Regions from separate parts of the Homo sapiens genome. Here all the other regions are linked to region 1. Evidence: promoter capture Hi-C in 16 types of primary human blood cells and fetal thymus (Javierre and others, 2016). All regions are on one chromosome and are shown on one strand. The core of a region is centred on a gene start or on the middle of the fragment in contact, and the rest is flanking DNA. Distances in the headings are between cores, read along the strand shown. Region 1 holds the start of RIC3 (RIC3 acetylcholine receptor chaperone). Region 2 overlaps STK33 (serine/threonine kinase 33). Region 3 overlaps STK33 (serine/threonine kinase 33). Region 4 overlaps STK33 (serine/threonine kinase 33). Region 5 overlaps STK33 (serine/threonine kinase 33).

Region 1 (5,633 bases), core at 1,003-3,502:
TTGGGAGGCTGAGGTGGGAGGATCAGTTGAGCCCTAGAAGTAGAGGCTGCAGTGAGCTGTGATCATGACTCTGCACTCCAGCCTGGGTGACAGAGTGAGACCCAGGGAAAGGGAAAGAGAAAGGGAAAGGGGGCCAGGAAGAGAGGAAAGGAGGGAGGGAGGGACAGAGGGAGGAAGGAGAGAGAAAGAAAGAAAATACATAGCTTTTATAAGATTCTCAATGGTGTATGTAACCCCAAAATGGTTAAGATTTTTTGCTGCAAGTTTCAGTTACTGGAATGTACCATTCAAGGTAAGTTTTTTCCTAGGTTATACTACTTCAGTAGCTTCTCCTTGTCAAAAACAGAATTTACAGTATTGGTAGCTTAATAATCTTAAAGTATTTATTGACTGCCCATTATATGCCAGGTACTGAAGAAACAGTGGTAAACAAGACAAAGTCCCTACCCTTGCAAACTTACATTCTAGAAGGTGAAGACAAAAAAACAAACAAGTAAACACTTAAGAATATTCCATATCATATAGTGATGCCTATCATGAAGAATATAAAACATGATAAAATAGAGAATGATGGGAGAAAAGAGTTATTTTAGTTAGTGTCATCAGGGGAAGTCTCTCTGAGGAGGTTTCATTTGAGCAGAAATTTGAATGATGAGAAGGGCACTGAGGGAAAAGCACAGCACTTCAGGAATAAAGAGAACTGAAGGTACAAAGATCCTAACATGAGAACACTGAATACCAACACTTGAGTTCTCAAGGGAACAACCCATGTCTAATCTCCACTCTACATTTTCTACAACGTTCAGAAGAGTGTCTCCCACTCACAGTCAATAGTACTTGTTCAAGATAATTCACCATAATGGAAAGTAAAAAAAAAAAAAAAAAAGTTTTCGAAGAATCTTCACTGTTCAGGATCATCATGAATTGACTCTTCTTCAAAGTAGACAATATCATTAGACAAAGCAGGTAAAAATCTTTGGGATTATTGCAATAAGACAGAAAGGAAAAAAAAAGAACAAATACGCAAAGATGTTTTAGAAGTCCGTCCCAAGTGGATAGTCTTACAAGCATAAAGATTATCAGGCAAATTCTGTAAACAGAATTATGTGTTCAACCTGCCCTCCACCCCTAAAGCTTGGTGCTTTGCATTTATAGTGTGTATGATGCTCAAGAGAATGGAACTACAGTCAATGTGCATAAAGCAGACGGAAGTGGATTACAGTTCAAAAGGAGCTGTCCAGCAATCAACAGTTTAAACATTACTGGAAGTGTTCAGACACCGTAAAATCATGTCTCAAAGATATTACAAGGATAATTTACAGGAGAAAGTTACCAGTAGAACTTCATGACCTATAGAAAACTGTTCTGGTTCCTTCTCCCAGCCTTCAGCACCGTGCCTTTACACTCATTCTGTAAAAGGCCCCAGTGCAGCTAAGAGGATGAATTTTTAAACACCACATACATCATGCCAACAACGAAGAATTAACAGATAAATACTGTTTCAATAAGGGGAACGTAATAATTTGTTCATAACCACCTCAGTAACTGAAACTGGGGTTATTAAAATCTTCAAGATATATTTTTAAAGGCACAAGAAGAGCCTGAAGCAGTGAGCGCCCAGCACCAAGTTGAAAAAACATAACGACTTAAGGTTTGCTGTACCAATTCCATTTGCCTTGATTTCGTACCAAGCGGCGCGTCAGAAAGTACACGGAAAACCTAAAGAGGGAAACCCAACTGGGAACCCTTGACTCAAAGCACGTGAACAAATGGTGACGAGATGAGTTAAGCCAGCGGGGTAAGAGAGAAGGGACTGCGCCTAAACGGGAGTACGCAAGGCCACCTAGAGGATGCACAGACCTGCATGCATACGTTCCTGACCCTTCCAGCAGCAGAACCATCTGGGCCGCCACCCGCTGATAACAACGGAACCGTGGGCATTGGCCCTTCAACGCCGTCTCGCCCGCCCTCTCCAGTCAGTTTGGTGGATATTTCGGTGAAGGCTGCAGACTCTCAGAGTCACCCCTCCCTCAAGCAGCGTTCTCCGTACTCTTCGGCGCCGGGAAGCTCAGAGGGAGCTGGCCTGCTCTTACCTTCAGGTGTCGGCGGCGGCTCCTGCCGCTTCCCGCGGGACAGGAAGGCCTTGGGCAGCAGCAGCGACAGAGCCAGGACAAGCCCAGAAGCCAGAGCGACTCTCTGCACTGTGGAGTACGCCATGACTGCTCACGGTGGTCGCAGGTGCAGACGCCAGCCGGAACCGGAACCGGAACCGGAGCACGGGCTGCCGCTCCCGACCGAACCGCGGGCGGCGCGGACGGCGTCGCGCGAGGGACAAGGTGCGCGAGGCGCACGCATCTTCACCTCCACTGTCGGGAGTTGACCTGCTCCTCCCGCGTGGTTACCCGTCGCTGTAAATGGTACCCTCGCCTTCCCGTTCATACTAACTAAAAACTCCTCCCTCACTCCCCATGTTCATCTTTTACTGAGTCCTGTGCATTCTACCGCCTACACATCCGGCGGTCGTGCCCGGATCTCTATCCCCACTTACCACCACTGCCCCCCACCCACCCGTAGATCACAACATCCAGTTTCTCCTCATCTCCATGATCTCGCTGTCTTCCAGCTTCCACTCATGCCCCTCGCATTCATTATCCGTCTGCAGCCACAGGTGATAATGCTAAAACACAAGACTAATTCTCTTTCTCTCCAGCTTAAACCTTTTAACTCTCCATTATCTTCAGAACAATAGTTAAACTCCTTTCTATAACCTCAACGCCCTGCATGATCTGGTCTTACCAATGCTCCTTCCAAACTGGATGATTTGCTATTTCTTTAGCATATTGCTTGTCTTCAGGGAAGCTTTGCTTGTCCTGTTCCCACTGCCTGGAAAATTCCTGACACCATCTCCAGTTGTCAAAAACTTCTCTGAAGAACAGCTTAAAAACACTGCTCTCTCGAAACGTTTTCAGTCAGCCTCTCCTTTCTCTACAATCCCACCGTTCTTTGTTACTCTCTTCATTCGTTCATTTAACATTATTTTAGTTTTTACTATGTATTAGACCCTCAACTTGGCACTACAGGGTCTGATGAATAAAATGGATTCCCTTTGTAGGACAGATAATTATCCAAACAAAAAAAATGCAGGAAATATTCTGGATCCCCGAGCAGTCTTCTCAACTGGTACGAGGAAAAGTCAAGAAAAGCCCCTTTGAGAAGGTGAAATTGAGTTAGCTGTTGAAAAATGAGTAACTTATAGGCAGACAGGTGGGAGGGGTTAGAAAGGTATTCCGGAAAAAGGAGGCCAAAAAAATAAAGGCAAATCTGGAAGCTTCCTGGTGTGTTCAGAAAGCTATTGGTAATTCATTTTGGCAGGGCCATAGAGTAGTGACAGGACACGAAGTGCACAAATATAAGCAGGAGCTACATTGTGAAAAGCTTAGGTAGAACTTCCAGTTAAACATGACAGATGTAACATATGCATTTATCTTTGCTTTCCTGGGACAGTGCCCAAAAAGGAAAATAAAGAAATAAAGTATATAAACTACAAGACTAAATGCAATGATAGAAAACATGACAGCAGATGAGAAATGTCAATTTTGTAAGACGCACACAACACTGTCCAATAGACACATAATACCAGCCACATATGTAATTTAAATTTTTCCAGTAGCCACATTTAAAAAGTAAAAATAAGTAAAATTTATTTTAATAATATTTTAAACCAAGATAGCAAAAATATTTCAAATTTTATCAGCACGATAGTGTGGCTCGTTGGCGCCCACAGTAGACAGTGCAGGTGTAGAGCATAAAAAGTTAAATGCCTGTGGACTGAAAGCCTGTAAGGAGTGAACTAATTTGCCCCTCAGAACCCATGCTCTTAAGAATTGGAGGTACTGGGTTCCTTTAAAGCCAAGGGTGCAGAGTGGGTCTGAATGAAGGATTGGCTGGAAATCTGATTAAAAAGCAGTTGAGACTGGGCACAGTGGCTCACACCTATAATCCCAGGGCTTTGGGAGGCCAAGGCTGGAGGATGGCTTGAGGCCAAGAGTTCAAGGCCAGCCTGGGCAACATAGGGAGAGCCCTAATCTCTACCAAAAAAATGTAAAAAATTAACCAGGCATGGTGGTGTGCACCTGTAGTCCCAACTACTCAGGAAGCTGAGGTGGGAAGATCACTTGAGCCCAAGAGTTTGAGGCTGCAGTGAGCTATGATTGTGTGAAACCACAATTAATTATGATATATAAGATGATAATAATGCCTGAATGAAGCCAGTAGGGGCACCCACTCCAGCCAGGGTGACAGAGTGAGACCCTGTCTCTAAAAAAAAATTGTTTGATTTTTTTAAAGCAATGGATATCTTCTGAATCTCTTTCCTTGATTCATGCAGCCAGATGGGTGCCACTGCTGGCTTCACTCGGGCATTATTATCATTGATGTTATTAACATCACTAAAAGTTAGAGTACTAATTATGTTTTAGGCATCTTACATATCATAATTATTCCTCCCAATAACTTCAAGAGGTAAGCAATATTATTATATACCCATTTCACAGGTAAGAAAATGGAGCCCCAGAAAACATAATTTACTTGCCAACAATTACACAGTATAAACTGGATGCTATGATTTGAACACAGGCATGCTTACTCAAGAATTTGCCCTCTTAGCTACCAGGTTTACTGTCTGGGGAGGTTTAGTCAGAAAACCTCTGGACTCCTGGACTATAGATGCAGCTTAGGGAGGAGGTGACTAATGGGATGTGGTCTCTAAGAAATACAGAGGGGTCTGGAATGACCACACTCCCCCCCGCCCTCCGCCACCAAATTCTAGCTTGGGTAAATGGTAGACATTAATTCTATATAACATGATTTTAAGAATAGAAGAATCAGGTTTGTGAGAAAGATGAAGAGTTCAGATTTTGACTAGCTGAATTTGAAGTTCCATGAAATATCCAAGTAGAAATATCCAGTTGGATATATGGGCCTGGAGCTCAGAAGAGATGTTTGGGCTAGAAACAATAGGAAATCATCAGCCCATCTATAGTAAATGAAGTCTAGGAGAAGATGGCATTAGTGAGAGTGCTCATGTGAAGTTGTAAGAAGCCACAATGGAAACCTAGGTCACAACATTATGTTGAAGTTCCCATGTATGAGGACAGAAATGAGGTGGGAAATAGTGATCCAAGTGTTAAAATCTTTAATGAATGTGGAGTTACTACAAGGTTGGAAGGTGACAGGAACAGAAGAAGTAATGGGCAGCCAGATGACATGCTCTTCTAAGGAGCTGTGTTTTTTTTTAATTGTTTAAAAATTTTTATTTATTTATTTATTTATTTATTTATTTTTGAGATGGAGTCTTGCTCTGTTGCCCAGGCTGGAGTGCAGTGGTGCAATCTCGGCTCACTACAAGCTCCGCCTCCTGGCTTCACGCCATTCTCCTGCCTCAGCCTCCCAAGTAGCAGGGACCACAGGTGCCCGCCACCACGCCCGGCTAATTTTTTTGTTGTATTTTTAGTAGAGATGGGGTTTCACTATGTTAGCCAGGATGGTCTCGATCCTTGTTATGCACCCACCTCAGCCTCCCAAAGTGCTGGGATTACAGGCATGAGCCACAGCGCCTGGCCAGGAGCTATGGT
Region 2 (5,633 bases), core at 1,202-3,701, 410 kb after region 1:
AAAAGATAATCAGAATAGCCATAAATACTTTTTCTTTTTAAAATAACTATAAATAGTAAAGAAATTAAATTCTTAGTTAAAACTTTTCAACCAAGAAAACTCTAGACCCATATAGCCTTGCTAGTGAATTCTATCAAACATTTAAAGAAGAAATAATACCAATTCTATACAAATTCATCCAGAAAATAAAAAAGGAACATTTCCCAATAACATTACCATGTTACCAAAACCAAACAAAGACACTGCAAGTACATATAACTACAGACCAATATCCTTCATGAACCTAGAAGCAAAAATTCTTAAGAAAATGTTAGCAAACTAAATCCTCTAATATATAAAAGGATAATGAGGCTAGGCATGGTGGCTCATGCCTGTAATCCCAACACTTTGGGGTGCCAGGCCAGGAGAATTGCCTGAAGCCAGGAGTTCAAGACCAGCCTGAGCAACATAATGAGGCCCCATCTCTACAAAAAAAGGAAAAAAAAAAAATAGCCAAGTCTGGTGGCATGCACCTGTAGTCCCAGCTACAAAGGAGGCTGAGGCAGGAGGATCACTTGAGCCCAGGAGTTTGAAGCTACACTGAACTATAATTGCGCAACTGCACTCCAGTCTGGCAAGGGAGCAAGACCCTGTCTCAAAAAAAGGGGGAAGGGAAAGGATAATGAAATTGCTTTAATTTTTTGTGAAAATGACAAGTGTTGGTGAGGATGTGGAAAAACTGGAACCCTCATACATTGCTGCTGGGAATTTAAAATGGTGTAGCTGCTGTGAAAAACAGTTTGGTGGCTTCGCAAAGAGCTAAACATAAAATTACCACATGACCAGCAATTCTACTCCTAGGTATACATGCAAAGGAACTGAAAGCAGGGCCTCAAACAGATACCTGTACAGCAACAGTCACTCACTGCAGCATTATTTACAATAGCCAATAGACACAAACAACCCAAGTGTCCATCAACAGATGAACAGATAAACAAACTGTGGTATACGGACACAAGGGACTATTATCCAGCCACAAAAGGGAACAAGCTCTGATACAACATGGATGAACCATGAAAACACTATGCTCAATGAAATAAGTCAGACACAAAATGACAAATATTGTATAATTCTATTTATATGAAATAGCTAAAATAGGCAAATTCGTGGAGACAGACAGTAGATTAGAGGTTATCAGGGGCTGGGGGAAGAGAGAAGAATGGGGTGCTTAATGCTATAGAGTTTCTGTTTGGGGTGTTGAAAATTTTTGGAAGTAGTGGATAACCAGCTAATGCCACTGAATTGTATACTTAAAATGGCTGCAATGGCAAATTTTATTTCATATATATGTATATATCACCACAATAAAAAAGAGGATAACAGATCACGACCAAGTAGGGTTCATCCTAAAAATGTATGGTTGGGTTAACGTTTGAAAATCAATCTAACTTACCATAGTAACAGACTAAAAAAGAAAAACTATATGATCATCTCAATAGATGCAGGCTGAGAAGACTGGGAGAGACTAAATCATGGAGTACCTTACAAGTCTTAACAAGCTTATACTGTATTCTAAAGACTACAGATTCCTCACCAAGGGATATTAAGAGGGAGATATTAAGAAGACTAACTCAATCTAGTTAGCGAATCAACAACCGACATTTGTAAATGGTAGAGAAAATGTTTACAGGATGCTGTGCCAGAGGGCAGCAAACAGAAACTGGGCATCTGAGATGGGGAAAATGAAGAGAGACTTCTAAAAAGAGGACTGAATGGGGAGTTGAAAACAAACAGCAGAACTTTCCTAATCCTCATGACTCTCTCACCACCGCCACTGCACCCATGTCTGGGAAATGCGTTATTAGTGATCATACTTTGCATGGACAAGAAAGAACAGTTCAGGTTCCAAGGTGACCTCCCTCATTCAAAACACGAATTACAACCAACATTCAAGTCAGTGTGTTCTTAGGCCTTTAAGACTTCATTTCCTTTTGGAACTTTCCAAACTATTTGATGTTCATGAAACCATCTAATGTAATAAGAAGAAATAAATAAACCTGAAATCTATTTTCAGATTGTAGATAAAATTTTTATAATGTATTACTATCTATCTGGCTATAAATATATGCCACAAATTTCATCACTTCAAATGCTTAATGTGTGAATATAACAGATATTAACTTTCTCATACTGAATAATAATAGCTAACATTTATTAAATACCTTTTTTGTGCCAGTAACTGGCTTAAGTACTTTGGGAATATTGTCTCACTTAATTCTTGTAACAACTCCATAAGATAAGTTCTACTACTATTCCCACTTTACAGATCATGAAACAAGACACAGAGAGGTTCGGTAATTTGCACAAGGCCACACAGCTAATAAATGACAGAGACAGGCTTCAAAACCAGAAATCTGCTAACATGCCAAACTCCTAACAACAATGCTATAAAATGAAGCAAGTGACAGATGTTCCAGAGTTTCATCAATTCACAAAAGACTACTGGATGACTTTAAAAAACCTTGAATAAGACATGAAAGAATTGCTCTACTTCCCCGGGATTTAATGTTCCATACAATAAATAAATTATATGCTATAAGTGATCCTCCTGTCTTAGCCTCCCAACGTGCTGGGACTACAGGCATGAGTCACCATGTCCTGCCAGGAAGATTCATTTAGAAGAAAATTTGGGAGGATAGGAGCCCTGAAATGTGTCTAGTAAATAGTTAGCAGAGGGTACTATGGTATCTAACATGATACAACTATCAAAATATGGCAGTATCACTCTTTTACATTCAATTATGTCTCAAACACAATACAAATAAGCTAAAAAGCTATATTTCTGGATAAAAGATTTTAAAATCTTCAATAATCATAGTGACTTTAGACTGTACTCCAGAGTTCATTAACTATGGATTCTAAGAAACAAAAAATAGCAGAAGGAAAAATCAAAGATATTTCAAGAATTCATTAATAAATCAGAATATTAGGAGAACAAACAAAACTAAGTCTTAACTCAAATTTCAAAAGCCTAGATGATTTTTCATACACTTTGCTTATTATTTAGTATTTATGCTACATGCTATAAGCAGAATAATCTTAGATATGTTTTTTGATTCTGCCATGTCACCTTCCTTGAGCTTGTTTATCTGGGTATATAAATATATTATTTTTCTTTACTATACATATTCTTTTTAAAAACTCTAGAATCACTCCTGGACATAGTAATTACTTACTCAGTAACAGGAAAAATGCAAAGTACTGTGTAATATTAACATTTATTTTCATATTCACCTTATATTCTACCAATGCAGAAGCTATGAAGGTGTAAGTATACATGCCATTTATACTCTATCCTATCTTACTGCTCTGCAGTTCTTTATACACAAGCTTACTTTGGCTCTCTTCAATTTATACATAAATATTTAAAACCTCCTTTTGCCCATTTTCTGGATATACTCAATGGTAACAGAGCCATTGTAAGCATTTTTATATGGTAACTTTCCTGAGCAAGAATCATACCATAACCCTAATAAAGGTCAAATGCAACAGTGCCTCTCCAGGGAAGTTCTTCCATGCAGCAGTGAGTCATTTTTTCTTTAGGAATGAAAGTTTCACTCTGGTGAGTAAATGTCTGCTCATATGCAGACATCTCTCACTACAAGTCAGTCAACTATGCCATAATCTTCTCTTTTCTCATTTTGAAATCTACCAACCCATACATATATATACGATTACAGTGCCTGATATGGAGCTCTGCTAATAGGAAAGCACTTACTTATTTATGATTTATCACACATTTGTACTGGGAAGAAAAACCTTCTGTATTAGTGAATTTCACCATGCCGACAGTAATCTCCTAGTTTCTTGTTTAACACATACAGTGAATTTACACATGTACAAAATAACATAAATTAAAAGTTACTTTTTACAGCATCACTTGTAATAGCAAAATACTGGAAAACATTCAAATACCCTTCAATAGGGAACTATTTAAGTAAGTTGTGGTACATCCATTCAGTGGAATACTATGCAGCAATTTAAAAAATGAAGAGGGTTTTCTTCAACTGCAACAATATCTAAGATATTTTTAGGCAAAAAATCAAGGTGCAACATAGCAACTACAGTATACTACCACTTGTATAAAATAAGGGTAACATTTTATTTATATATAATATACTATATGTATACCACATATGTACATTTTTGTACGTGTAATTCACACACACACACACATCTCTGAAAGCATACTCAATTGTTACTTGGCTCCAGGGAAATTAAATGGGTATCAAGGCCACAGAGACAACAGGAAGACTATTTTACTATATACTCTTCTTTTTTAAAATTATATACCAAGTCCAACTATTATCTATCTAAAAACTAATTAAACTTTAAAAGAATATATAGGGTAATAATTATATGCAGAGGCTCTATTGGATAAGAAAATCTGGGTTTAAGTCCCCATTCTTCCATTAACCAGTGGTGTGTAACCTTAGGCAAGTTCTCCAAGCCCCAGTTTCCTCATCTGTAAAATGGAAGTAATGATAGTTACTGTGAGAATGAAAAACAATCAGGTATATAAAACAATTATCAGAGTACCTGGCAATTATTATTATTTAGTGTTATCTTTTAAATGGTACTGCAGACTTGGAAATCACCAAGTTATAGTCATCACCAATTCCTTTTTCTTTTTTCTTATTCTGAATGAAAAAATTTTGCTAGTTCTTTTAAAATGTGTGGCATTCAATCATTTCTGTCCATTTTATAGCCACTAGAGATTGGCCCAGACCCTGAAGAATCAGTTAGAGTAGGGATTTTGTGAGCAATTAGGAACCATCATACATTTGGTATAGGTTTTTTATTAAATCTAAACCTTTCAGTGGAGCCCTTATTGCCACTATATATAGGCATATCTACAGAGTCTCTACCACACTAAATACCAAATGAAATGCCACCAATTTATACTTGTATCCCTATTTTAACAATTATAAGGTACTTTCAAATACTTTAGTTCAATTCCTAGAATAAGAATCTCAGAAATGGAAGATCCTTTAAAATACAATGCAATTTTTTTCAACAATGATGAGGGAATCAGAGCATATATTTTTATCTCTCTTGTAGATGAATATTTTTAATTTAAGAGCAACCTGTTAAATATGAATTTAAATTATATTAAATAATGAAATAAATAAATGAAATGAAAGCCAAAGAAGAGAAGCGACTTGCCAAAGACTCACATGCTTTACAAGAGAAAAAAAAGGCTGCCTAGCATTCACATGTTCTCATTTTACTGCTCATTTCGTTCACATTCTTACAAGGAAGTCATCAAGTATGCTACTTTCCCTCACCTAAAAGGCTCTTACTTATACAACCTAAAACCCCGTTTACATCTAATAATCTGATTTTTAAAATGGGCAAAAGATTTGAATAGACACTTCTCAAAAGAAGACATACAAATGGCAAACGGGTATATAAAAAGGTGTTCAACATCACTGATCATCAGAGAAATGTAAATCAAACTACAATGAGACATCATCTCATCCCAGTTTAAACGGCTTTTATCCAAAAGACAGGCAATAACAAATGCTAGAGGAGATGTGGAGAAAAGGGAACCTTCATACACTGTTTTTGGGATGTAAATTAGTACAACCACT
Region 3 (5,633 bases), core at 1,880-4,379, 390 kb after region 1:
TGTAAGGCAAGAGAAGCAATGTAAGTGAAGGTGGGCACATAAGAAAGCACCCACGATCATCCAGAAGTTCTGTTGGCCAAGAGAGTACCTCAGAAATAGGAGTAAAGTTGAAGTAGAATATTGAGACTAGGGCCAGTTGGGGAGGGCCTGACCATAAGGCTAAGAAGTCTGGATTTTATCGGGTAATTGGGGAGCTGGTAAAGATTTCTGAGCAGAAAAAAGCGTCATCAAAGTTGTGCTTTAGAAAGATCAATCTAGCAGTAATTGAAGTAACTGAACATCAATCAAATGCAGATGATATAGCACAGTGAGTATAATGTAAGCCTGCAGGAATTCAGGAATTCATTTATAAAAATGTAATTTATATGCATCTTTTCAGTAACACAGCTCTATAAACTGTCTTGCTCATAGACTAGTACCTAATTATATAAGCATCTAAAAAGGTCATAAGTACTATAAAATGATATCACAAAACCTCTTGCCTCTGCCTGGAAATCCTTCCACCCCCTTTCCCTTCCAGTAAACTCCTTATCCTGTAGACTTCAGTTTAAATGTCACTTCTTCAGAAAGGCTTTTTTTAAATCACTTATCCAAATTGGGTCCCCTTGTTTTTCTCTTTCAAAGGAACTTGTACACTTTCTTCATAGCACTTATCACAGTTTATAAGTATATATTTTGGTCACTAATTAATTAAAGTCTATTTCCCCCACTAGACTGTGAGGGGAAAGACTGTATTTTTGCTCATCATTATATTCTCCAGAGCCTAAAATGATGTAACACATATTAGGCACCTAACAAATATTTGTTCTATGAAGAATGAATGAATGAAGAAGAGAAGAACAGATTTTAGGGTCACCATAGTAATGCCCCTCTTTGCTAGATGCACTTGCTATTGACTAAGATACTTTCTTTCAAAGAGAAAATTAAAAGAAACCTTAAACCAGGCATGGTGTCTCATGCCTGTAATCCCAACACTTTGGGAGGCCAAAGCAGGAGGATCACTTGAGCCCAGGGGTTCAAGACCAGCCTGGGCAACATAGTGAGACCTCATCTCTATAAAAAATAAACAAATTAGCTGGCCATCATGGTGCATGCCTGTGGTCCCAGCTACTTGGGAGGCTGAGGTAGGAGGATCACTGGAGCCTGGGAGGTCAAGGCGGCAGTGAGCCTTGATTGTGCCACTGCACTCCACCGTAGGCAACAGAGGGGGACCTTGTGGGGAAGGGAAGGGGAGGGGAGGGGAGGGGAGGGGAGGGGAGGAGAGAAGAGGAGAGGGAGGAGGAGGAGAAAAGAAAGAGGGAGGCAAGGAGGGAGGGAGGAAAGAAGGATGGAAGGAAGGAAGGAAGGAAGGAAAAAAGGAGGGGAAAAAGGAAGTCAGGAAGTCTTAAATTTCAACTTAAAGCTGAATTCTTACGTGCCAAAATCAGAATAAAAACCTGTACTTACACAAGGAAAACCTTAAAGCAAATACTCAAGTCAAAATATACATTCCTATCTCTCATATTTTTACAGAAATAATTCCTAGTGCAACTACTAAGTGAACTAGAATAAGGAACGGAACCTGGACACAAGAAAGCATTATAAGTCAGATGTAAAGAAGGCAATTATAGACTTGTAACTCCTTTATTCATGTATATCATGTTAGAACCTCAAAAAGGAACTTCAGCATTCAATGAAAGATTTTTACTTCAACCTATATCATCACTGGAGTAGAAAAAAACCCTCAAAAAAGATAACTAAGCTTTGAAAAAAAAAAAGTAATTCACTTCCAAATAATAAATACTTGGTTTTCAATCACATGCTGTTTATACCTATGTACTTACTTCATGCCACAAACTTGGTGCAAGGCTTTCTTCATATAATAATAAACATGGACGATTAGCAATGTAATGAACCTTAAGTCACAGAAGTCTAGAGAAGTCCAAAGGAGTTCAACATGAGGCATTTGGGACCTTATCTCAAGATGCAGCCCTTCACAAAAATTTAACTTAGAAAAATCACTCAATTCACTAGGACACATGAAGCCCTAACCAACTGCCAACAAGGAACTAGAGAAGTTGGTTTAAAATCAGAAATGTTGAGCTAACTTGGTACAATGGATTACCTGCAAAAAAAGGAAAAATAAGATTTCCATCATTCATTTGTTTGCAGGGAGCTGTTTAACTATTGCAAATCAGATGCACTACATAAACTTAAAATGAAAAGGAAAAAAGACCAGCATAAATTTGTTCAAAGAGATATAGTCAGTTTCACTATAAGGAAATACCTACATTCCTAAAAATCACTACACTATGCAAAAATGGCACAAACAAGGACTTACGGGGGAAATGTAGCTAGGGACACAAAACTCCAAATCTTTGTCAGTGATACACACACACACACACACACACACACACGAAACCTAATAAAAAATCATAGCATTTTTGTATATGTTAAATGGTTAGGAAACATAAATATATGGCACCTTACCTTGAAAAAAACCTGAAGTTTACTTATAGATATAGGCATTTGAAAGACTGTAGTTTTTGAATTAATCAAGGGTGCCAGAAAGAAGGTTATCTGAAATCAGAAGGAAAGGTGTGACACCAGATGCGGGTGGGTGTGGCTCATAACTTGTGGTGAACTGAGGTAGCTGGTAGATATTCCAGGTATGTACATGTGTCCGTTTTGTGTGTTCCTGCTGGGCTCGGTTCAACTATGTGCTGTATTCTGTGTTCACCTGGTGTTTCTTGCTGACAAAAATCATGGATAACACAAACATGAAATTCACTTATGCTCAAATCGCTTCCTAATATATCAATGGCATTGCAGCAAATTCACGTTTTCAAAACAAGTGTTAATATAGCACAACTGGCTGTGCGGGTATTCAAATTCAAAAAGCTAATGCCAACTGGATACTGCACTCATTTCCCATTCCTCAAAATGTCTTGAGCCCAATGAAATCACAAGATTTTGAAGAATCACAGACTCTCTAATAGAAAACAGCCACAATTTCTAAATAGATTGGTATAATTCACATGGCCAAACCCTAGAAAATGTAGAGGTCCACTTGCCTCCATGAAACTACAACCTCCTTCATAAAATTGCTGCCTCTAAAGCAACAAAACATAAATAGCACTGGTAAATACAGCATTTGATCAAATCTAGTTTTTGCTCAGGAATACAGGATCTTCTCCTGTCATCATGAGCATTATCACTAATATACCTTCTCACATATCCCCAACACCTTCAGCAGCCATATTATGACAACCAAAGCACAAAGCCAACAAAATGGCATAGCCAAGTTCACAAACCTTAGCATTTTTTCCTGCCCCTCATGCTAGTTTCTAGGTTGGTGGCATGACAATCATGTAATAAAAACAGTGTTCACTAACAGACTTCATTTCATCTGGTTTTAATTAAGAAAATATAACCTCTAGGAGAAATGTCTGAACCGCTATTTTTAGCATTTATCAAGTATTATCTGTTCCACAAGCTAAGCTCAGTTTAGTACGTCATGCAAAGTAGGAGCTTCCTAAATCTTTGTTGAACAAACATTAGTTGAACCTACTTGATTTGTTTTACTATTCTACCCCATAATTTTATTCCCAGAATATTAAATTCTATTTTCAAAAGCAACATAGTCACTACCGGTTAAAATATTTTTGTTTGCTTTTAATTACTATAAAATCAGAAAATAATTGCTGTAATAAAAACTGAAAGAGTCCAGAGGGTATAAAATGAAAATAAGAGTCCAGAGCATCTCCATTCTCCATCTCACAGATAATCATTTCCAATGGTTCTGTGTAACATTCTAGAAATTTTCTTTGCATATACACAGCCTAAGTATAAATCACATATGGTTGTAAATAAGCTCATACTATACCTATTCTCAGTAACTTACCCTTTTTCTAAATATTATAGCCTAACCATTTTTTCATTATCCATATATATATTTACACCTCTTTTGTTTTAATGGCTATATAATATTCCAATATATATAAGCATTCTAAATTATTTAACAAGTCCATATCAATAGTCAAGTAAATTGCTTCCAAATGGTTTCTATTACAAATGATGCTATATGCAATAACCTTTTACATATATCTTTGTATACTAAGATGAATATATTTGTAGAATACACTCTTAGCAGTAGCACTGCAGAGATAAATGTGTGAGCATTTATTATTTTGATAAATGTCAGACTGCCCTCAAGAAAGGATATGAGAGTGCATTTTACCACATTCTGTCATTAGATATTTTTGAACTTTTTCATCTTTCTCAATTTGATAAATGAAAAATAGCATCTTATTTTAATTTCTACCTCCTTAATTATAAATGAGGCTAAGTATTTTTTCAAATTTTTTTTCTGTAAAATATCTGTTCATACTGATTTTTTCTCATCTTTTTCTTGTTGACTTATCAGTGATCCCTAAATATTAATGATATCAATCCTCCTTCTGTCAAACATATTGCAATTATTCTCCCCCACTTGGGTATTTGTTCATTGATTCTTATCATGGTGATTTTGTCATGTAAAAGCTTTTAGTTTTTATGAAATCAAATAATTAATCTTTTCTTTTGTGGTCACTAGGTTGAGAGTTATGCTTAGAAAGGCCTTCTCTGCCCCAAGATTATAAAATTATCTGCCCATGTTTTTGCCTTAAAATAATAATAAACAATTGGTAATTTTTACTGAATGCTTACTTCAGGCCAGGCACTGTTCTAAGTACCTGACACACATTATTGTATTTAATCTTCACAACAACCCTAGTAGGTTAGTAGTATCATTACCTCCAAGACACAGATGAAGATTCTACAGCTACTTATGAGAATTAAACTCATCTGAGAATGCATAGCTGCTATGTGGCAGTGCCTAGATTTCAACTGAGACTAGCAGATTCATCAACTACAGGCTGTTATCTACTGACTCTCTCTCCACGAAGATAAATGGGAGTTCAAACTCTTTTACAAACCTCTACCTATTCTCCCTTCCCCTCTTTATATCTGTTACATAAATCCTTTATTCAACATTAATTTTAGAGCCTTTACATTTTCTTCTGTTTTCATACAACGCAGTTATTCAGACTTTACTTGGTCTATTTTTAAATAGATTCCATATGCCCTATCAACCCCTTCCTATCTCTGCTTCTTCATTCCCAAGTTCTTTTTATTTATCACTTAGATGATTAATTTTACTCATGAGGCATTTCTTCAGGGACTAGGTCCTTGAATGTTTGAGAATATTGGTTGTTATCTTTATGCATAAATAAGAGCTTGACCAGGTATTAAATCTGTGGGTCACACTATTCCCTGCCTACACACATTCCACCAAAACTCAGACACTGTTCAACTGCCTCCTGGCTTTGGCTATTACCATGATGTCAGAAGCCAGTCTCATTTTCCCCCTTTCGGTGACTTGCTTTTCCTGTCTGGATGCTTGGCGATTCTTTTTTTTAATCTTGAAGCACAAGTAACTTTACTGTTACATACTTATTTGATATTGATCATCCTGTTTCAGTTCTTTTAGAATTCTGTGTTCTTTGAATCTGCAGATTACTAATCCGTTTAATCTCTGGTGGTCTTTTCCCCATGATATATTTGAAATTATTGTCCATTCGTTCTACTCTCTATCAGGCACACCAATAACACAT
Region 4 (5,633 bases), core at 1,028-3,527, 370 kb after region 1:
AAGAAAAAAGCCAGTAGTAGGCATATTTTTAGAAAAACAAAAGGCTCAAGAAGATAGGCAATTTTACGTGAATTTGGCAGAGCGACCTAACCTAACAAGATGTGTTCTTTCCTACATGTGTCTAGTGCTCAACGAATGCTTGTTGAATGAATGAACACACACACATATGCATGTCTCTAAAGAATGAACGATAAACAGGATGTCAGCTACTTTTTTAAAATGTCAAAAAGGGAAAGAATATGGAGCTATGATCTTCTAACAGGAGGACTTCCTAAAAGTCAAGGGTCCGGAACTCGCTTGTCTCAGATGATAATTACAGGCCAATGAACCACTGCTATCTGGCCAATTAACCTTTCTGACAAAAGAAGGATGTCTAAAAATAAGAGAAATGTTTTCAAATATTACTGATAATATAAACTGGGTTTTGTACATTTAAGATTTGTCCAGAATCTCTTTGTCCCTTGATATGTAACCTATCCAAGAAGTATCAGCTCCAGCCAGAAGGATTTTACTATTACACAACCTGTAAAGTTTACAGAAGAGGTATTCTGAAGGAGAAAAAAAAACAATAATGACTTTCTGAAAAAACAAAATTGTAGATAACTTTGTTAAAAAACAAAAATTTAAAACGAAGTAAAAATTAAGATTCTCACCTAGCCCATTATCATAGAGACTTACATTGCTATCAAGCCCGTTTCTCTAGGGGCTTAAAGGCAATCTCTGACACGGTGCTGCATCTCAAAATGTTCCCTCAGTGAGGTGATGAATCTCTCTTGCCCTGGTCTGATGAGGCCATGAGTGATCGTTTAAGAATCAGTGTATCAGTGAACAAGGCAAGGGAGCAAGCCAGCTGGCCAATATGAAGATGAAATACTTGACCTAGCGACACCACCAAAGTCTCAGCAAAAACAGGCTATGTCCTACAAACAGGTAGGAATCTGTTCACTTTTGATCTGAAACAATGGAGCACCCCTAAAATACCAACACCAATAAATAAGAGTAAACAACCCAATAGTTTCGGATTGCAGCAGGATAGCAAAAGATTCGAAGAATCTACCTGAAATTGCTTCTTCATCATAAAGAATGCCCCTTAGCAACTGATGCAATAATTACTTGGCATTAAGATAGACATATGATTTATTTGGCATTTAACTATCATGAATATACATAAAGGAACTCAGTGAGGTTACATTACACCCTTAATAGCTAACTCATAACTGTAGTACGTAAATAGGAGCTAATGTAAATGCTAAGCTTCTATAGATAAATAAATAATATTTGATGTATCACCCTTCAGTGAGCCGCAAACTGAAAGAAAGATTATATGATCAATTTAGGCCTGAAATCCTTAGCGCACTGTTGGTGGGAATATAGACTGGTACAGCCATTATGGAAAACAGTATGGAGGTTCCCGAAAAAATTAAAAATAGAACTATCATACAACCCAGCAATCCCTCTTCTGGGTGTATACCCAAAAGAGAAGACCTTTTGCTCACCTCATAAATATATATGCACTCCCATGTTGATTACCGCATTATTCACAATAGCCAAGATATGAAAAAACCTAAATGTCTGTCAGTGAATGACTGGATAAAGAAACTGTTGGCCAGGTGTGGTAGCTCATGCCTGGAATCTCAGTGGTTTGAGAAGCCAAGGTGGGAGGATCGTTTGAGGCTAGAAGTTTGAGACCAGGCAAACAACATAGTGATAACCCATCTCTACAAAAAAAAAAAAAATGTAATTATCCAGGTATGGCGGGGTGTACTTGTAGTTCTAGTTTCTTGGGAGGCTGAGGTGGGAGGATCCCCTAAGTCCAGGAGTTTGAATGAGCTATGATCATACCACTGCACTCTAGCCTGGGTGACAGAGCAAGACCCAGTCTTTAAAAAAAAGACAAATAAAATTTTAAAAAGAAACAGTGGTGTGTATACACACACGCATATACACACAGGAATATTATTCAACCTTAAAAAGGAAGTAGATCCTGCCATTTGCTACAAAACAAACCTAGCAGATATTATGCTAAGTGAAAAAAGACAGACACAGAAAGAAAAACATCACAGGCTCTCACTTATACATGGAATATTTAAAAAGAAAAGAGTTCAAATACACAGAGCACAAAACAGTAGCTACCATGGATGGGCAGGGGGCGGGAGAGGAAACAAAGAGATGCAGATCAAAGGATACAAAATACCAGATATGTAGGGTGAACAAGTTAGAGATAATACACAACATGAGGACTAAAGTTAATCAAATTGTATTATATTAGACATTTTAGTTAAATAACTAAATTTTGGTTGCTCTTGTCATGAAAAAGTAATTATGTGAGATGAGATATGTGAATCGGCTTCACTATACTACCCATCTTACTATCTCTCTCTCTCTCTCTCTCTCTCTCTCTATATATATATATATATATCTCATAACATTATGCTGTAAACCTCAAATATACATAACACATTTTTTTAAATTTAGGTTTGAAACAACATTTTACAATGGAAAATAGATGAAGCAATTAAGGACCTCTAAAGAATTCAGTTCAGATGTTATGCCTTTAAAATATAAATTGAATTAAATTATATCATTACTTGAGAAATGTGTATATTTCAATGAACATATTATTTAAAAACTGACCTAATTTACTAATAAAAGAACAAGAGGCTTTTCATCTCTCCTTTTCCAAAGAGGTTTTTTAAAAAATAGTTCTCAGTTTCGTGATTCAGTACTATAATACAGTTTTACAGTTTTACATTTCCTGCTTTATCTGTTGAAGCAAGATAACTCAGTAGCTATTGTCCAGGTAGACTTTCATTTCACCCAGACCACGGTTTTATACAAAGTAAATTTTCTAACTTCAGAGAACTTAACAACCACTCCTAATCAGAAACTCTTTAGGCAATGCCAAGAAAAATATCCAATGAAAGAAATTCTGTTTAAGTACAGTATGAACAACTCCTTACTAAATAGCTTTTCCCCCAACTCCAGTGCATAAAGTATGTTCCATACATATCTTTATATCACTATATATTTTGAAATTTAAAACTTTGATATAGTCCTAAATTCGTTGCTATTTTACTTTCCATTTGTTCAAATGTTTCACAACTTCTGTCTGTGGTACTACAAGCCCCTTCAAAAGACTTAAATTGTATTAAAATACTACTTTCAATTTAAAGAGCAAAATATCTGAAAAATTAAGGTCACAGTGTTAGAGAGTCTAATGGAGTATGGATTTCTGCTTGAAGTACTTCAACCAGAAACCTCAGCAATCTTAAATCTGTCTCTCCTGGATATAATAAGTTTTAAAGCTTTGAATGAATTTTCAGACTATGTTTCACATCTCTCATAACTTCAGAAGAAGATGCAGCAGAGAAGCAAAGAGAACAGTCTCTATAATAATGGAATTTTTATGCAGTACCAATAAGCTACAGAGCCTTTAAAACAAAAGATGAATAGGATCATTTTTAAAGGAGGAAAAATAAGCGTTAGAAGGTTTCTTTGTAAGAATTTGCTCATAGGTACAAAGTACTTTTCAAAAGATCAAGAAATAGTAGGTTCTTTGATTCAGGATGTCATAAATGTTACAGAATCACGATTAAATCAACTATTAGTTTTAAAATATAAGGGTTTTATTTCAATATTTCTACGATAAATGTGGCTAGTTCCACATGTCATTACGAAACCTAAGTCAATTTTCAGATAGGGCACTGACCAGGAAATACTGACAGACAAAAATCACATGGAACATGTACAAATCTGAAATAGGGAAACAACACAAAATACATTTCAAAAAAATTGCTTTTAAAATGTTTGTCATCTAAAACAGTGGTTCTCAACGGAAGTGATTTTGCCTCCCGGGGGATGGCTGGCAATGTCTGGGAACATCTTTCGTTGTCACAACTAGGGGAGTGCTACTGGTATCTAGAGGGTAAGAAACCAAGGATGCTGCAAAACATCCAAAATGCATATGGCTGCACCACAAGAAAGAATTACCCACTCCAAAATGTCAATAGGGCCAACGCTGAGAAATACTGACCTAAAAGAATGCCAAGCACGTGATCAAATATGCTTGGATGATGCAAAAATACTTGCTGAATGAATTAATGAATTTTAATAAATGAAAAGATTTAGTTTGCACTTTTTTTTTAAGACACTCTGTCACCCAGGCTGGAGTGCAGTGGCACGATCTCGGCTGCAACCTCTGCCTCCCCAGGCTCAAGAGATCCTCCCCACTTAGTCTCCTGAGTAGCTGAGACTACAGGTACACACCACCACACCCAGCTAATTATTGTATTTTTTTGTAGAAACGGGGTTTCGCCATGTTGCCCAGGCTGGTCTTGAACTCCTGGGCTCAAGCAATCCACACGCCTCAGCCTCCCAAAGTGCTGGGACTACAGACATGAGCCACTGCACCCGGCCTGGTTTTCACTTTTTATAGCTTCTTATTATCTCCATCAGTTTGATGCCGCCCAATGCAGACTCTGTTTTGTTCTCCAAATATGTATCTACTCATTCATTAGATTCCCCTAGGGTGACAAATATGACCAAAGAGATGAAAAATCACATGTCCATTAAGGATCTTGCCCTATGATATGGTTTTCCAAGGAATCTAAAAGAGGGACGCATATTCACCATTTAATTGTCACTTAAATCAGCAGGTGAAAACATTTCAAATGTCTTCAGTGATTAAGAGCTCAAAAATATATTTTTAACTATGGGAATTAAAACATTATTATTTTATTTGGCCACATTTGTTGATAAACCAACGTATTTCAAATTTACAAGTCAAAACCAAATAAGTAAAATTTAAATACTCTTTAGAAAATACTCATTGTGGTTCTGTAATTTGTAACAACATGGATGGAACTGGAGATTATGATGTTAAGTGAAATAAACCAGGCACAGAAAGACAAACATCACAGGTTCTCATTTATCTGTGGTATCTAAAAATCAAAACAACTGAACTCATAGATGTAGAAAGTAGAAGGATGGCTACCAGAGGGTGGGAAGGGTTGTTGGTGGTAGGGGGAAGATGGGACTGGTTAATGGGTACATTAAAAAAATGGAAGAATGAATAAGACCTACTATTTGATAGCACAACAGGGTGACTATAGTCAATAATAACTTAATTGTACATTTTAAAATAACTAAAAGTATAATTAGATTATCTGTAATACAAAGGATAAATACTTAAGGGGATGGATACCCCATTCTCCATGACATATTACACATTGCATGCATGTATCAAAATATCTCATGGACCCCATAAATGTATACCTACTATGTACTCACAAAAATTAAAAATATAAAAGAAAACACTCATTGTGTGAGAAATGCAACTAGAAAAGGTTAAAATGCCCATGTGATTTTTTAAATAGTAATTCACAATTGCCAGTTCAAAATAATACTAAATGATTTTTTTCCATTTTTTTATTATACTTTAAGTTCTGGGATATATGTGCAGAATGTGCAGGTTTGTTACATAGGTATACATGTGCCATGGTGGTTTGCTGCACCCATCAACCCGTCAACTACATTAGGTATTTCTCCTAATGCTATCCCTCCCATAGCCCCCCATCCCCCGACAGGCACGGGTGTGTGATGTTCCCCTTCCTGTGTCCATGTGTTCTCATTGT
Region 5 (5,633 bases), core at 1,847-4,346, 350 kb after region 1:
ATTATTTTATTATTTTTTGCAGCTATTTTAAAAGGGACTGAGTTCTTGATTTCTTAGCTTCATCATTGTTGGTGTATAGCAGTCCTACTGATTTGTGTACATTGATTTTGTATCCTGAGACTTTACTGGATTCACTTATCAGATCTAGAAGGTTTTTGGTAGGGCTTTCTAGGTATATGATCACATCATTGATGAACAGTGACAGTTTGACTTTCTCTTTTCCAATCTGGGTGCCCTTTATTTATTTCTCTTGTCTGATTGCTGTGGCTAGGATTTCCAGTACTATGTTAAACAGAAGTGGTGAAAGTGGGCATCCTTGTCTTGTTCCAATTCTCAAGGGAAATGCTTTCAACTTTTCCCCATTCAATATGATGGTGGCTGTGGTTTTGTCATAGTTGGCTTTTATTACTTTGAGGTATGTCCCTTCTATGCCAATCTTGTTGAGAGTTTTTATCATAAAGAGATGCTGGATTTTATCAAATGCTTTTGCTGTGTCTATTCAAATGACGATATGATTTTTGTTTTTAATTCTGTTTATGTGATATATCACATTTACTGACTTGTATTAAACCATCCCTGCATCCCTAGTATGAAACCCACTTGATCTGATGTATTATCTTTTTGGTATGCTGTTTGATTCCGTTAGCTAGTATTTTGTTGAAGATTTTTGCATCTATCAAAACAGTAATATTTTAAAGTATTGCCCTTAATATGTCATAACTCTAAGATATAAAAATGGAAATTCTACAAAATGATCAAAGAAAGCTACTTATAAAGGATTAAATGTGCAAATGATTCCTTCTGCGCCAACTATTATTACAAATAAAGCTCCAGATCAAAGGGTAGATCTTCTTTAAGTAGATTATGCTCATAGATAAAACAGACTAATGAATTTTACAGTAGTTTTCTGTTGGGTCAATAATCTATAGATTAATTCTCCTTTATTTCTAGTGACTAAGTTTTCCTTGCTACTTATGCTTTTCTCTATAACTGACAAAAATTTACATAATGATATACAATTTCTTTTTTTCATAGTTTGTATTTATTGGGCACCTAATTTATATAAGATCTCGTTCTTGGTCTTGTGGAAATAGAGGGTAGATATACAAAAAAAATATCAACCAGAGTCTCTAAAAAATACAATCTAACATAAAATGTGACACAGATAAACGAAGTATACAAAGTGCTACTGGCTCAAAGAAGGGAGAGATGATCTCCAGCAAGGTAAAAAATGAAGAGTCCATAAAGGGATTTCACTTAAAATTGGCAGAAGCTGGAAGGAAAAGCATTCCTGTAACAGCTATGGTCCTAAGGCAAGAGTGTTTGTGGAGGCAGGAGGTCAAAATGTTCAGAATTTTATTGTAAGCTCATTTCTTATGAGCTTCTTAAGCTTATATTTTTTATTTTTAAGTCTAATACATAAAATACTAAAAGCCTAGTTCTTTCACCTTACTGTACTGTCCTTCTTAGGTTCTCGCCTGTACTGTGCTGACTCAGATTTCTTCTTGCACAAGCTTGTTCCCCATCTCATAGAGTCAGCATGACTTTGCTAGGGAAGTGACAAACTACTTTCACTCTGATCAAATTTTGACCTTGGCCTTCCTCAGGTACACAATTACCTAGTTCCCTGCTCTTCTTTCTTCCTATTGTGCCTTATAACTTCCCATTATATTTAGCATATTTAGCGCCCCTAGGTTTAGCACTGAGTTGCTTTTCACATTAGATTTCTCAAGGACTTACTATTGTAGCCCAAATAGAGAAAAAATTAAACAAATTATGAAATTCCTATTTATATATTCCTTCATTCTACAAATGACAATTGATTCTTTGGTTATAAGCGGCACTCTTATGAATAATGATGCATATAAGTTGCTAATGTATACCATCACTTTTTTGCCACTTAGTCAAAACTATTTACTAAAGCAAGCAAGGAGTCCTGTGCCATCATGGAGAGCGTGTGGAGCTAACCACCCTACAGCTTGCTTCTGCTCATCAAGGAAATCAAGAACCTGCTGGTTTTGTCCCTGCTCACCTAACATCTCACTTCTTTTTCCTCATCACAATACTGCTAATTCCACCTAATAGAATCCCTTATGCTTGTGTGTAGCCCGTTCCTACCACCTTGCTTTCAAATGCTGACCCATACCTCAAGAAGCTCTCCCTCTCTATATGTTTCATTTGCAGTGTAAATAAGGCACTATTCATGAATGCTGGTTTTGTCTATAGTGCTACTGATATTACTGTATCAACCAAAAACAGAACTATAAGTCTGATTGTAAAAATTACAGTCCATATAGAATCATGCTATCCACCTCTACACTGCTCGTAGATCCAAACCATCCCCTCACAATCCTTGCAACTTTTTCATCCCCCTGAAATTGAGGCTGCTTTTTTAAATCAAAAGTACTCAAGACTTTAAAACATTACTTCAATCACGGTAACTTTTTTTTTAATTTTTGGGGGTATATAGTAGGTGTATATATTTATGGGATACATGAGATATTTTGATGCAGGCATGCAATGTGTAATAACCACATCAGGATAAATGGGGTATCCATCACCTCAAACATTTATCCTTTGTGTTATAAACAATTCAATTATACTCTTTTAGTTATTTTTAAATGTACAATTACATGATTATTGACTACTGTCACCCTGCAGTGCTATCAAATACGAGTTCTTATTCATTCTATTTTTTGTACCAATTAACCACCCCCACTTCCCCACCCCACCCCACACCACTACGCTTTCCAGCTCTGGTAACCATCCTTCTACCCTCTATCTCCATGAGTTTACTTGTCTTAGTATTTTAGCTCCCAGAAATAAGTGAGAACATACTAAGTCTGTCTTTCTGTGCCTGGCTTATTTCACTTAACATAATGATTTCAGGTTCTAACTATGTTGTTGCAAATGACAGGATCTCATTCTTCTATATGGCTGAATAGTACTCCATTGTATATATGTGTCACATTTTCTTTATCCATTCATGTGTTGACAGACACTTAGGTTGCTTCCAAATTTATGGTAACTTCTATTTTTTGATAAATGACTATAATTATTATTAACACATTTTCTACAAATTTTCTATTTCATTTTAACACAATAACAGATTAAACCTTTGTGGGTTAGCCTGGAAACTTAGCCATCGTGAATAAAACCACTCTATGGGGGAAAAAAATCTGAGCTGTAAAAAATTAAACTAAAACTAATTTATAGATTCTATTTGGAGATGCTTGCCAATTCCTGAGGAAACAACAGATAGACTGAGTGGGATGTTACTGATAGCCTCCAGGGATCATGCGGATAAGAAATACAGTCTAAAGTCCACCAAGGTTGAGTACCTCAGGAGCCTTATTACATTGAGGTAGAACTCTGAAGGACTTCCAACCTACAGCAATAGGCATCAAATCATCTCATTCTCTAAAATTGAGTTGACGTGATCCTGGACTGGTTATACCCACAGGCGCTAGCAGGAACAAACATAATCCTTCTCTGAATGTTGATGACACCATCCTGGACCTCAGATTATCTCTGCAAACAATGTTTCAAATATAATGTCTGGCAAACAATTTAATTTTTTTAAAACAGCCACATGACTAGACAAGCAAACATGAATAAAACCAGGAATATAAACTCACCAACTGAGGCTCCAAACATTAAAGTTATCAGATAGAGACTCTAACTATCAAAGAAATACAGACAAGAAAATTATAATAAATGAGAAAACACAAAAAATGAACAAAAGGACATTAAAGACCTGAAAAATGCAATTGCAAAAATTAGAAACTCAAAGGATGGTCATAATAGCAGATTAAACTCAGCTGAACTGGAAGAGAAGTCAGAAAAATGAACAATTAAAATGCATCCAGATTAAATCAAGGAGAAAATACAAAATATTGAAAAGAATACAAGAGACATATGGAATAAACAAAATTGACAAACTCTTAGCTATACTAAGAAAAAAAGAGAATACTCAAATAAAATCAGAAATGAAAGAAGAGATATTACAGCTCATGCTACAGAAATAAAAAGAATCATAAGAGACTACTACGAACAATTATACGCCAACAAACTGGATAACCTAGAAGAAACAGAAAAATTCTTAGAAACATAGAACCTACCAAGATAAATTCAAGAAACAGAAAGTCTAAACAGATCTATAACTAGTATGGCAATTGAATCATTAATCAAAAACCTCCCAACAATGAAAAGCCCAGGATTATAGACTTCACTGGTGAATTCCAAATTCATTTTATAAGAGCTGCATTAGCCCGATACCAAAGCCAGATAAAGATACCACGAAAAAGGAAAACTACATGACAATATCTCTGATGAATACAGATGTAAAAATTCTCAACAAAACACTAGCAAACTGAATTCAACAGCACATTAAAAGGATCACAAACCATGACCAAGTAAGACTTATCTCTGAGATGCAAGGATAGTTCAACACATGAAAACCAATCAATGTGATACACCATATTAACAGAATTGAAAATAAAATCACATCTTTGTCTCAATAGATGCAGAGAAGCATTTGGATAAAATTCAACACTTTTTCATGATAAAAAACAAAAAAACTCTCAACAAACCAGGAATAGAAGAAAACAATCCCAACGTAATAAAGACCATATATGAAAAGCCCATAGTTAACATCACACTCAAAGGCGTAAAACTGAAAGCTTTATAAGATCTGGGGCAAGAAAGACATCCTATGTTCATGGATTGGAATAATTAATATTGTCAAAATGCCCACACTGCCCAAAGCAATCTACAGATTAAACGCAATCCTTACCAATATCCCAACAGCATTTTTTACAAAAAGAAAGCAATCCTAAAATTCACATGCAACCACAAAAGACCACAAATTGCTAAAGCAATCTTAAGAAAGAACAAAGCCAGAAGCATCACACTTCCTGATTTGGAAATATATTACAAAGCTACAGTAATCAAGAATATAATACTGCCATAAAGATAAACATATTGACTAATGGAACAGAATAGAGATCCCAGAAATAAACCCATGCATATATAGTCAACTGACCTTCAACAAAGATGCTAAGAATACACAATGGAGAAAGAACAGTCTCTTCAACAAATGGCACTGGGAAAACTGGATATCCACATATAAAAGAATGAAACTGGGGGCAGATTCCTAGATGGCCGAATAGGCACAGCTCCAGTCTGCAGCTCCCAGCGTGAGCGACAAAGAAGATGGGTGATTTCTGCATTTCCAACTGAGGTACTGGGTTCATCTCACTGGGGCTTGTCAGACAGAGGGTGCAGCCCACGGAGCAGGATGGGGCATCACCTCACCCGGGAAGTGCAAGGGGCGGGGGAATTCCCTTTCCTGGCAAAGGGAAGCCGTGATAGATGGTACCTGGAAAATCGGGGCACTCCCACCCTAATAGTGCACTTTTCCAAATGACCTTAGCAAATGGCATACCAGGAGATTATATCCCGTGCCTGGCTTGGCGGGTCTCACACCCACGAAGCCTCACTCACTGCTAGCACAGTGGTCTGAGATTGAACTGCAAGGTGGCAGCAAGGCTGGGGGAGGGGCGTCCGCCATTGCTGAGGCTTGAGTAGGTAAACAAAGCGCCCTGGAAACTCAAACTGGATGGAGCCCACCA

The links. Contacts are between HindIII fragments. The CHiCAGO score rates a contact against its expected background, and 5 or more counts as called.
Region 2: a fragment that was not itself captured here is called in contact with the fragment with the promoter of RIC3 in region 1 in 7 of 17 cell types (monocytes, naive B cells, M2 macrophages and 4 more); the score reaches 9.5 in monocytes.
Region 3: a contact is called between a fragment that was not itself captured here and the fragment with the promoter of RIC3 in region 1, in 6 of 17 cell types (M2 macrophages, M0 macrophages, M1 macrophages and 3 more). The highest score is 10.6, in M2 macrophages.
Region 4: a fragment that was not itself captured here is called in contact with the fragment with the promoter of RIC3 in region 1 in 4 of 17 cell types (M0 macrophages, M2 macrophages, endothelial precursors and 1 more); the score reaches 6.6 in M0 macrophages.
Region 5: a fragment that was not itself captured here is called in contact with the fragment with the promoter of RIC3 in region 1 in 1 of 17 cell types (M2 macrophages); the score reaches 5.6 in M2 macrophages.

What each region holds. Positions count from the first base shown.
Region 1 is chr11:8,166,773-8,172,405 of GRCh38, forward strand. It overlaps RIC3 (RIC3 acetylcholine receptor chaperone), which reads right to left and starts at 2,253. Exons shown (of 6, transcript NM_001206671.4): 1 at 2,094-2,253. The coding sequence starts at 2,217. It overlaps RIC3-DT (RIC3 divergent transcript), which reads left to right and starts at 2,298. Exons shown (of 5, transcript NR_187234.1): 1 at 2,298-2,417; 2 at 3,113-3,216. The HindIII fragment of the contact is 1,725 bases long and covers 1,133-2,857 here.
Region 2 is chr11:8,574,408-8,580,040 of GRCh38, forward strand. All of the region lies in intron 1 of STK33 (serine/threonine kinase 33), which reads right to left. Among named protein-coding and RNA genes, the nearest start is that of STK33, 17 kb to the right of the region's middle. The HindIII fragment of the contact is 1,831 bases long and covers 1,537-3,367 here.
Region 3 is chr11:8,556,031-8,561,663 of GRCh38, forward strand. All of the region lies in intron 1 of STK33 (serine/threonine kinase 33), which reads right to left. Among named protein-coding and RNA genes, the nearest start is that of STK33, 35 kb to the right of the region's middle. The HindIII fragment of the contact is 2,780 bases long and covers 1,740-4,519 here.
Region 4 is chr11:8,538,595-8,544,227 of GRCh38, forward strand. All of the region lies in intron 1 of STK33 (serine/threonine kinase 33), which reads right to left. Among named protein-coding and RNA genes, the nearest start is that of STK33, 53 kb to the right of the region's middle. The HindIII fragment of the contact is 2,051 bases long and covers 1,253-3,303 here.
Region 5 is chr11:8,511,228-8,516,860 of GRCh38, forward strand. The region is part of intron 1 of STK33 (serine/threonine kinase 33); the gene reads right to left. Among named protein-coding and RNA genes, the nearest start is that of STK33, 80 kb to the right of the region's middle. The HindIII fragment of the contact is 3,168 bases long and covers 1,513-4,680 here.